Regions from separate parts of the Homo sapiens genome. Here all the other regions are linked to region 1. The links are contacts of gene promoters, found by promoter capture Hi-C in blood cells and fetal thymus (Javierre and others, 2016). All regions are on one chromosome and are shown on one strand. Each heading gives the region's core, a stretch centred on a gene start or on the middle of the fragment in contact. The rest is flanking DNA. Distances are from core to core; before and after follow the strand shown.

Evidence for each region. The method cuts DNA at HindIII sites, captures the fragments that hold promoters and counts their contacts. A CHiCAGO score of 5 or more calls a contact.
Region 2: a contact is called between a fragment that was not itself captured here and the fragment with the promoter of HSP90AB1 in region 1, in 1 of 17 cell types (non-activated CD4 T cells). The highest score is 5.8, in non-activated CD4 T cells.
Region 3: the fragment with the promoter of RSPH9 here is called in contact with the fragment with the promoter of HSP90AB1 in region 1 in 2 of 17 cell types (activated CD4 T cells and total B cells); the score reaches 5.6 in activated CD4 T cells.
Region 4: a contact is called between a fragment that was not itself captured here and the fragment with the promoter of HSP90AB1 in region 1, in 1 of 17 cell types (naive B cells). The highest score is 5.2, in naive B cells.

The regions. Positions count from the first base shown.
Region 1 is chr6:44,245,836-44,248,370 of GRCh38, forward strand. HSP90AB1 (heat shock protein 90 alpha family class B member 1) reads left to right here and starts at 1,266. Exons shown (of 12, transcript NM_007355.4): 1 at 1,266-1,360. RefSeq lists enhancers at 1-322, 1,077-1,831, 2,316-2,365 and a silencer at 526-765. The HindIII fragment of the contact is 5,727 bases long and covers 1-2,002 here.
Region 2 is chr6:43,571,844-43,574,378 of GRCh38, forward strand. It overlaps XPO5 (exportin 5), which reads right to left. Exons shown (of 32, transcript NM_020750.3): 2 at 1,637-1,758; 3 at 663-735. Among named protein-coding and RNA genes, the nearest start is that of XPO5, 2.9 kb to the right of the region's middle. The HindIII fragment of the contact is 3,844 bases long and covers 1-2,535 here.
Region 3 is chr6:43,643,776-43,646,310 of GRCh38, forward strand. RSPH9 (radial spoke head component 9) reads left to right here and starts at 1,261. Exons shown (of 5, transcript NM_152732.5): 1 at 1,261-1,550. The coding sequence starts at 1,324. RefSeq lists a silencer at 680-868. The HindIII fragment of the contact is 7,744 bases long and covers 420-2,535 here.
Region 4 is chr6:43,714,124-43,716,658 of GRCh38, forward strand. No RefSeq gene overlaps it. Among named protein-coding and RNA genes, the nearest start is that of MRPS18A, 28 kb to the left of the region's middle. The HindIII fragment of the contact is 2,271 bases long and covers 139-2,409 here.

The DNA of each region.
Region 1 (2,535 bases), core at 16-2,515:
GGACAGCTTGCCAACTGGAGGGCAGGCAAAACGGCTGAGCCAGGCCAGACACGGCAGCTCACTGGCCAGGGGCATGGCCTAGGGGCTCTGGTGCCAAGGCTGAAGGGGAACAACTTGGCCAGCCGCTCTGTGGCCGGCATCGTCACGCGGCCTCCAAGAGCTCCGGCTGCCCTGCACTGGTTCCCAGAGACTCCCTCCTTCCCAGGTCCAAATGGCTGCAGGAGCGAAGTGGGCGGAAAAAAAGCGAACCAGCTTGAGAAAGGGCTTGACGTGCCTGCGTAGGGAGGGCGCATGTCCCCGTGCTCCGTGTACGTGGCGGCCGCAGGGGCTAGAGGGGGGTCCCCCCCGCAGGTACTCCACTCTCAGTCTGCAAAAGTGTACGCCCGCAGAGCCGCCCCAGGTGCCTGGGTGTTGTGTGATTGACGCGGGGAAGGAGGGGTCAGCCGATCCCTCCCCAACCCTCCATCCCATCCCTGAGGATTGGGCTGGTACCCGCGTCTCTCGGACAGGTCAGAGCGGGTCGCCGGGTGGGGTCGCTGCAAAAACCCTGCCCCGGCCGCAGCCGGAGAGGCGGAGCCTCGCGGGGAGGGGGCGGGACCGCCGAGACAGGCCTGGAAACTGCTGGAAATGCCGCAGTGCCGCCGCCGCGCCTTCCGCCGCATGTCGGCAAAGAGTCCCCGCCAGCCCCGGCCGGCGCCCTCCCCCTACGCTGAGCTGCCCCTCAGCGCGAACCCTCCGCCCTTCCTCTACTCCTGCGAGAGTCGGGATCTGGGGCTACCCAAGGTTGGGTCCCGAATGCCAGTCCCTCTGTCGGGACGCGAGATGTGTAGGGCAGATGCTAGGAAGAAGATTGGGTCTGGGAGCGGTGGTCCGCGTGGTTAGCTGCCTCCGCTCTTTTTCGGTGTCCCCCCCAGTCCCGCCCTTGGGTGTGGGGACGCCTGCCCCACAAGTGTTTAGGGAGGTCAGTGGGTTCCTCGCCCGTAGAGACACCGTTTATGCCAAATGAGCACTCCTCATCCCCGCTCTTGATGGAGTCATGTCCTAGACGTGAAACTATGGGGCTGTGATCACAAGCAAATGTGTGGGCGGATCCGTTGCTTGGGTTCTTCCCCGCCCCCTCTTTTTTTCGGACCATGACGTCAAGGTGGGCTGGTGGCGGCAGGTGCGGGGTTGACAATCATACTCCTTTAAGGCGGAGGGATCTACAGGAGGGCGGCTGTACTGTGCTTCGCCTTATATAGGGCGACTTGGGGCACGCAGTAGCTCTCTCGAGTCACTCCGGCGCAGTGTTGGGACTGTCTGGGTATCGGAAAGCAAGCCTACGTTGCTCACTATTACGTATAATCCTTTTCTTTTCAAGGTAAGGCTGAGATCTCCGCTAGGCTTCTTTCCCTTTAGTGCTGTATTCGTGTTGTTTTTGTTTTTTTCTGTCCTTTAGGGAGCCTTAGTCTAGATGTCGGGGTGGCTTGTGGATAACGCTCTGGATTTTTATAGGGTGAGGGTAGTGGTGGGTGAGGTTTTTTGAGTCCTCCTCGGTTTTCTCTAGTGTGTTTGGGGGGTGGGGCTTTCTCTCGGCGCCTGCTGGCCGTAGCGAGGTGGGCTGTGGGGTTGGGGCAGTGGGCGGCTGGCAGCTGCACGTGGTGGCCGCGCGGCCCGGGACGCTGCCATTTTTGCCCCTCCACTTCCGGACGCGGCTACGGGGCGTCGGAGGGGGACCGCAGGGTGGCGGGGGTGCCCGCTCGGGTGACTCAGCACGGCCTTGTGGGACTGGCTTTGTCACCTCTCTTATCGGACGCGTTGTTAAAGCCTTCTTGGGTGCTTTGTTTCTGTGAGGGAGGGTTGACGGTGTGGGAAGAGAGCTTTCGGTCTCCAGCACCCGATACTCCCTCCTTCCAGATCTTTCTTGCAGTCCCGGTGGAGGAGGGGCGGGGAGGGGAGCAGGTTCTGGAAGATTCATGGGCTCCTTCCTCCGCCCTTCCTCGAGAGCTGAGATTGTTCTGGAAGCTTCTGGATTCTGGCGCCCCGCCCCAGTGCCCGGATGCTGGGGCGAGGGAGGGTGCACTGCGGCGCCCCCTCCTCGCGTGGTCCTGGCCGACGCATGTCCGGCAGTGACGAGTGTCGGCCTGGTGGCTACGGCCACCATCTTTCTTGGGTTTGGTCCTGTTCTGTAATTTTGTGCTGTGAAAGGGTCGTGGTGGAGCTTTTGGCTTAAGAATTCTTTGTCCGGATTTAATTGCTCCTCCGGTGGGTATCGTATGGATCCCAGGTTATTCCTCCCTGCCCTATGGGGCAGGAGTGTCCCGCCCTTGGACTGGTCTTAGGAACTGACACCTCAGGGGGAGCAGTTTAAAGTTAGTGCCATTTTTATCTTAAACTAGTCACTTTGATCTCCCCCAAATAAAGAACTGTAGGTAGTGATTTTCACATTTAAATTTGTGTAAGGATTACTTGGGATCTCTAGATACCTGGGTTGGACCAACATTATGATTTTTCTGCCATACTACCAGATGATGCTGAGGCTGCTGGTCACCATTC
Region 2 (2,535 bases), core at 10-2,509, 670 kb before region 1:
TCATTCTGCATACTTAAAATTCTGCATGTTTTTCATCATTAGTATCACATAGTAGTTGTTTGGAATAAAAGAAAATAGTGTTTCAATCTAATTTAGATCTAAGAATCTTATTGATTTGTTGAAAATATTTAATCCCCTCTGCCCTGTCTTTATAATTTAAAAAATAGAAGTCAATACATAAGCATGATTAATTAAACCTAGTAAGAGACATATGCTGAATTATGCTTTCTGCTTTTGTTTTGTTTTGTTTTTGAGATAGGGTCTTGCTCTGTTGCACAGGCTGGAGTGCCATGGCACCATCACAGCTCACTGCAGCCTGGACCTCCTGGGCTCAGAAAATCCTCCCACCTCAGCCTCCTGAGTAGCTGGGCCACAGGCATGCGCCACCACGCTCAGCTAATTTTTGCATTTTTGGTAGAGATGGGGTCTCACTGCATTGCCCAAGCTGCTCTCGAATTCTTAGATGCAGGTGATCCTCTTACCTTGGCTTCCCAAAGCGCTAGAATTACAGGTGTGAGTCACTGTGCCTGGCCTAAATTATGATTTCTTGTGCTGTCTGACCTATTTAGAAGCAGTGAATTTTTACACAAACTCCCTATTGAAGAAGTCACGCTTTGCCTAAACTACCTTGGAAACATGTCTCCCAACCACCCATTCCTTACATTTGCAATCAGCTCCATGACACTGTTCTTCAGATACACCTTCTCCAATCGAGACATGCCGTTCCACCGAAACCTGACCACCAAAATGCATAAAGTCAATAGAACCACTTTAGAAGTCTTGTCTTTACAAGAGAATAGCATGGATTTCTACATTTGATTACACTGGAGATTTCATTAAGAAATTATACTTTTGATTTTGTACCTGTCAATGAATGGGCAAAAATGATCTACATTTAACCAAAATACTAACACAAAAATTCTTGGGAAAAGGTTTTATATATGCAGTGGTCCATTAACTGGAATCCGCACAAGATTTGTACCACACGTCAGCTTTGCCTCATGATTTTATTGATGGGCCAAAAGTGAATATACATCTAGGTCAACTGCAACAATGTACTTGCTTTTCAGAAAATGCAGTTTTGACATCAGTCATTTTCTGTGCTGGCTTACAAAACAATTCTGGAAAAACTATGGCTAAGTCTTAAAGGCTACCTCTTCTGATAGGTGTTGAGGGTAGGACAATCAAGTTAGGATGGGTTTTCAGTTATTCTCATACAATCCTGCTTTGGATGTACCACCCAGAGAAGGCACACAAACTCAGAAAGACAGAGAGAAAAAAGAAAGCCACAGTGCCTAATCAGAGATTCATTGACCTATACATTGCATTACTCTAAAAAGGCTTCGAGGGCTAATGACATATAGTCAGAGCTCAGTAAGTATTGGCTAAATGGCAGGTAATATTTGTTGAATGGGTAATATGTACCACACACTTTACATGGATGAAGAAACTGAAGAAAAGAAAGGTTAAATCTTGAATGAGAGCTCCTGTGAGGTTCTGATAACATCTAGGGGATCATTCCTCTCTTCTTGGAGATTGCTCTTCTCTACTCACCTAAACAGCATCTCTATAGGTTATATAAGATATAAAGATCTGTTCTCTCAGACTTCAGTGGTAATGTCCAAGAGCTCCTTACTTGACAACGTGTTCCAGGATCTGAAGGCCAAAATGTCTGACGATGGCAACTTGTGTTTTCTCAGCCAACCTCAAGCCACAGGGGACACAGATAGGACACTTTTCTTTAAACTCCTCACAAAACTGAAAGAAGAAAAGTTAGTGTTTCCTTTCGAGGGCTGAGAGAATAGGGACTAAAAGAATTTCATCTTAAGAAACTCCAACCAGGGCCGGGTGCGGTGGCTCACACCTGTCCCAGCACTCTGGGAGGCTGAGATGGGTGGACTACTTGAGTCTAGGAGTCTGAGACTAGCCTAGGCAACATGGCGAAACCCCATCTCTATTAAATATATATATATATATATATTTTTTTTTTTTTTTTTTGAGACGGAGTCTCACTCTGTCGCCCAGGCTGGAATGCAATGGCATGATCTCGGCTCACTGCAACCTCTGCTTCCCAGGTTCAAGCAGTTCTCCTGCCTCAGCCTCCTGAGCCCATGTAGCTGGGACTACAAGTGCACGCCACCACACCCAGCTAATTTTTGTATTTTTAGTAGAAACAAGGTTTCATCATGTTGACCAGGCTGGTCTTGAACTCCTGACCTCAGGTGACCCACCTGCCTTGGCCTCCCAAAGTGCTGGGATTACAGGCGTGAGCCACTGTGCCCGGCCCACTAAAAATATTTTTTTAAATTAGCCGGGCATGGTGGCAGGTGCCTGTAATCCCAGCTACTCAGGAGGCTGAAGTGGTAGGAGAATCACTTGAGCTCGAGAAATCAAGGCTGAAGTGAGCCGAGATCTCACCACTGCACGCCAGCCTGGACAACCAGAGTGAGACCCTACTCAAAAAGAAACTCCAACCTAAGCTATATGTTTAAAGTTGCAAAACCTAGATCAATATTATGTGGATCTCCAAGCACA
Region 3 (2,535 bases), core at 11-2,510, 600 kb before region 1:
GAGGCTCAGGTGAGTGGATCACTTGAGCTCGGAGTTCAACACCAGCCTGGCCAACATGGCAAAACCCCGTCTCTACTAAAAATACAAAAAATATTGGGTGTGGTGGCACACACCTGTAGTCCCAGCTACCTGGGGGGCTGAGGTGGGAAGATCACTTGAGCCCAGGAGGTTGAGGCTGCAGTGAGCTGAGATCACACACCACTACACTCCAGCCTGGGTGACAAAGTGAGACCCTGTCTCAACCCCCGAAAACCAACAATGCCCAGACAATCAAAAAAGTAATTATCTGGGTTATTTACACACTTATTTATCAGCTGGGGCCCAGGTCATTCTGATTTCCTGAGTGCTCTTCAAAGGAATCCAGAAATGAAAATATCAACTAGCAACATTAACGATAAAGCCCATCTCCTGTGGCAACAAGCTTGCTGAGGAACCTGTTTGTTTGTCCTTGGCTGGGGACTCAAGAAGTGAATGTGGAGAAGTGATCTAGCCCAGGGAGTGAAGCTCCAGTTGCAGTGAGGTTCTGGCCTTTCATCTCTTGCTACCATTTGGATCTAAAAACAACAGTTGGTGGTAGTTGGTAGTTGATGAGAAAGGTGGTAGTTGATGAGAAAGTGTAGTCTATAAAAGTCCCCCTTTTTGTATCTCTCTCCTCACCCTCCTTTCCCAAGGTGTTACCCTATACCTTGCCCCCATTGCCTAGATTTTCATTTGTCACTTAGAATATTTCTATGGAAAGGGTAGATAAAGAAGACAGCTGGTGAAGATGGAAGAGAATGGATGGACCTCATTCTGTAAGACCTGGCTTGGGGTGGGGTGCGGGTGGAGGTAGTCGGGTTGACAGAATCTTAATTAGAGCCAGGAGGAATCTCAAATTCTTCACAGATCATTCTGAGGTCAAGAAGTGACATGACTGGGGTGAAATAGTACAGTTAGTGTCAGTGTTGGGGTTTTGTATTGTTTTCTTTCCAGACCCCAGGTCCATATACAGTAAAGACTCTAAATGTCGACTATGTGAAAGGGCTCAGGGAAGGCCAAATATCTATGGAAAAAGGCTGGGTTTGGACTTACAACCCCAACTGTAGCCTAACTGTAGGGGAAGCCATACTGTGGCCGTGGCAACTGAAGACATCCCGTCCCAAACTCTGGAAAGGATGAGGGAGGGGGCTGATGCCTAGGCCTCCGTGGGGAGGAGGTCTGGGCGGTAGGCGGTGGGGTGGGTGGAACCTAGCGTCCAGCTAGGCGGAAGGGCGGAGCTTCAGGTCTCCATGGAGGCGGCTTCTCCTAGCAACTCGACGGGCGTTGAGCGGAGCCGCTGACCTGATGGACGCCGACAGCCTCCTGCTGTCTCTGGAGCTGGCGTCCGGCAGTGGGCAGGGCCTCAGCCCGGACCGTCGGGCCTCGCTGCTCACGTCTCTTATGCTGGTTAAGCGCGACTACCGCTATGATCGGGTTCTCTTCTGGGGCCGCATCCTTGGCCTCGTCGCCGATTACTACATCGCGCAGGGCCTGAGTGAGGACCAGCTCGCACCGCGCAAGACGCTCTATAGGTGAGGAGGCCCCCGGGACGGGCTCCCCAGAGGGTGGCTACCTGGAGGCAGGGCGGGGTGGGCGGGTCGCAGCAATTGAAAGGGGCGGGGCCCATGGGGCCAAGGGAGGTGTGGGCGGGATCTGAGATGAGTGGAATGGGGGAGACCCTGGGGGGCGGGCCTGGGGACGGTCAAGAGGTGGTTGAGGGAAAGGGCGGGGATGGGGATGTCTCGGAATCTGAGGCTAGGGCGGAGCCTGAGAGGGCGGGGCAATGGACGGGCGATGTCCCCCGGAGGGCGGGGCCTTGCGAGAGCTTGTTCTCCGCCTGAGGAGGCCAAGAGAAACTTACATGCGGATGGGTTTATAAGAGAGACAGGGCCAAGAACGCAGGTGAAGCAGTGGGAAGGTTTCTGGAAAATGCGGACCTGGAGAAGAAGCCAGGTTCCAGCCAAGTGCTGGGCCTGGCTCAGTTTGGAGAAGGCTCAGTTTGGAGAAGAGTCAGACGCCAGAGGGAGAGGGTGGTGCTCTTTGATAGAGGTATCTGCTCTGGAGCTGGAGGCGCTTTTGGAAATAGAGAACGAATGCGGAATGGGGAGAGAGCTGGGGAAAATTCCCTGGTCACTACCATACAGGACCATCCAGCTATTTATTTATTTATTTTTGTTTTGAGGCAGAGTCTTGCTCTGTCACCCAGGCTGGAGTGCAGTGTCGCTATCTTGGTTCACTGCAACCTCCGCCTCCCGGATTCAAGCGATTTTCCTGCCTCAGCCTCCCAAATAGCTGGGATTACAGGCACGTGCCACCACACCTGGCTATTTATTTATTATTATTATTATTATTATTTTAGACGGAGTCTCGCTCTGTCGCCCAGGCTGGAGTGCAGTGGCTCGATCTCGGCTCACTGCAAGCTCCGCCTCCTGGGTTCACGCCATTCTCCTCCCTCAGCCTCCCGAGTGGCTGGGACTACAGGCGCCCGCCACCATGCCCGGTTAATTTTTTTTTGTA
Region 4 (2,535 bases), core at 24-2,523, 530 kb before region 1:
GGGCAAGTCAAGTCTCTAGGCAGGGCATGGCTTTGACGGCAGGCCTCACAGTAAGATGGGTGTGCTGGATTCAGGATCTAGACGGTGAGATCCCAGAAAGTGAGGCAGGTAGTGGAACCAAGGGAAGACCTCTCTCGAAGCTTCTTGCCGCTCTTAGAGATGAGGGAGCGAATGTTTTTGGGCATGGACCAGACTGTATCTCCCAGAACTCTCTTGGCAGCCTTGCCAGAGGGGTGCTGTTCTCCCATTGCACAAATGAGGCTGCTTAGGCCTGGAGAGGGTAAGGACCTTGCTCAAGGTTGTACAGACTGACAGCGACGGAGTCAGGATTGTGACCCAGCTTTGCTCAACTACAAAGACTGCCCTCTTTCCACTACACCATGAGGTCACCGTGACCCCCAGGAAACAGGGGGATGGACAATATCAGATGACCTTTTAAAGATCTTTGCCAGCAGAAACATTTTCTCAGTCTCTGCTCCTTGGTCTCCCTCCACACTCACCCCTGCCTCCTCCCGCTCTCTTCCCTCCTCATTACTCAACCAGGAGTAACCCCACTGGCTATCTATCTGTGGGTTGGGGGAGGAGACCAGCAGCTGTAGTTACTCAGATTAACCCTCTGCTGCCTGCCCACCTCCCCTCCACCCCATGGATGTGTTGGTGAGGAACCCCCCTCCCCGCTCCCCTGCAGGCAGCCACTGGCTGAGGGGCACTTCCCAGAATTAGCCACTGTGAACAGCTGGCTGGGGGGCGGGGTTGAGGGGGTAGGTGGTAGAAAGGAGGCTAATAGCTTCCAGATGTGCCAAGGCACGAGAGCCTTGGGAGCTTCAGTTTCAGTGGTCTCCTGTGACTGGGATGGGTTGGCCCTCGTGTCCAGGACTCCAGAATTACTAAGGCAGCCAGGCAGATCCCGACTTTCAAGCTGCATGCAAATCTGTGTGCAGGGTAAGGTTGACCTCCAAGCTGCACCTGCAGGGGCCCCGGGAAAACCCCTGCAGCCCAGCTGCTCTCTGTGGTATTAATACTAACACCATCTACCATGTCTACACTGCCAGTAGCATAGGCAACAGAGCATGGTAGTTTCGAGTGCAGGGTTTGGATTCACAGCGCTTAGAATCAAATCTCAGCTCAATCTCTCAACCAGTTCTGGGACCCAAAGCAAACTGCTCAGCTTCCTTAGCCATGAAATAGTTTCTATTTCATAAAGTTATTATTAGTATTAAATGAGATAATCTATGCAAAGTGCTTAATGCAGTGCCTGGCACATAGGAAGTTGTTGTCATTTAGAGAATACCTACCTTATTTCAGAGGCTATGCAATTTTATCCTTGCAACCCTGGAAGTTAGCTATGAGTAGTCTTACTTTTATGAGGCTATATCAAGGCTCAGAGAGGCTAAGTTACCTGTCCAGGATCACACAGGTGTCAAGTGCAGGGTTGCAACTTGAACCCAGGCCAAATGAACCCTAAAGCCCAGGCTCATTATCCTGTGCCCCTCCCTGTGTGTGTGTGTGTGTGTGTGTGCGTGTGTGCGCATGTGTTTTACATTTTCCCATCAGTAGAAAGAGGTTGTAGGACCTGCTAGGGGCTGAGGGCATCATTTTCTGTCCTGCTTACTGAAGAGAGGCCTGACCCAGAAAAGTAGGCAACAGCTTGGGGGTTCAGAGGGGCCCTGGAAGAAGGCAAGTGCCCTGGAGGGGACACCAGGGACAGGAAATTTCAGGAACATGGAAGGAGCAGAGGACAGAATATCAGAGGTTGGGAGAAGTCCAGGTTGTCCTAGGGTGCCCTCAAAGAGTATCCAGAGCCCCCATGAGCGGATCCTCAGGAGCCACTGACTGCCCTTTCCCTGGGTGTGTTTCTTGCTTTGCCAGTTGCTGCTCCTCTTCTGCACGTCTTCTCCTTGGCTAGTGCAGGGTGGTGGAGGGTCTCCAGAATTCCCCTTTACAGGATGGGGAGGACGGGAGACCAGGGAGGAGGAGAACCAAGAGCGAAGGGGCTGGAGCCAGCCAGCAGGGAGGCCCGCCATTGGCCCAGCTCCCAGGGCCTGGGCCTGAGGACTACGGAGCTGCCTGCCCCTCACCATTCCCTCCCACTGCCCCCTAGGGCTCCTTGGCTGCTGAGCCTGCCAGATGGGCCCCCGCCAAGCCAAACAGCTGCCAGGGGGAGAGGAAGAAGCATTTCCGAGCAGAGAGGCCCCTGTAGGCTCCTGCTGAAGCCTAGAATCCCCCTTTCTCACCGCCAAGTGAAGGGGGAATCTGTGCACATGCACATAGGCATGCACGCATGGCACTGGGGAGCCCAGGCGCAGGGCCACGGGACCTGGGACATGCAGGGGCAGAGGGGTGGGGGTCTGGAAGCAGGCTTGGGCAGGGACCATGGCTGTGCCAGGTAATAGGGAGTCTGGGGAATTAAGCTTGGCTCACTCTGAGGTTGGGGAATGTAGTGGATTGAATAGAGACCCCCAAAGTTTATGCCCACCTGGAACCTGAGCATGGGACCTTATTTGGAGATAGGATCTTTGCAGAGGTAATGAAGGT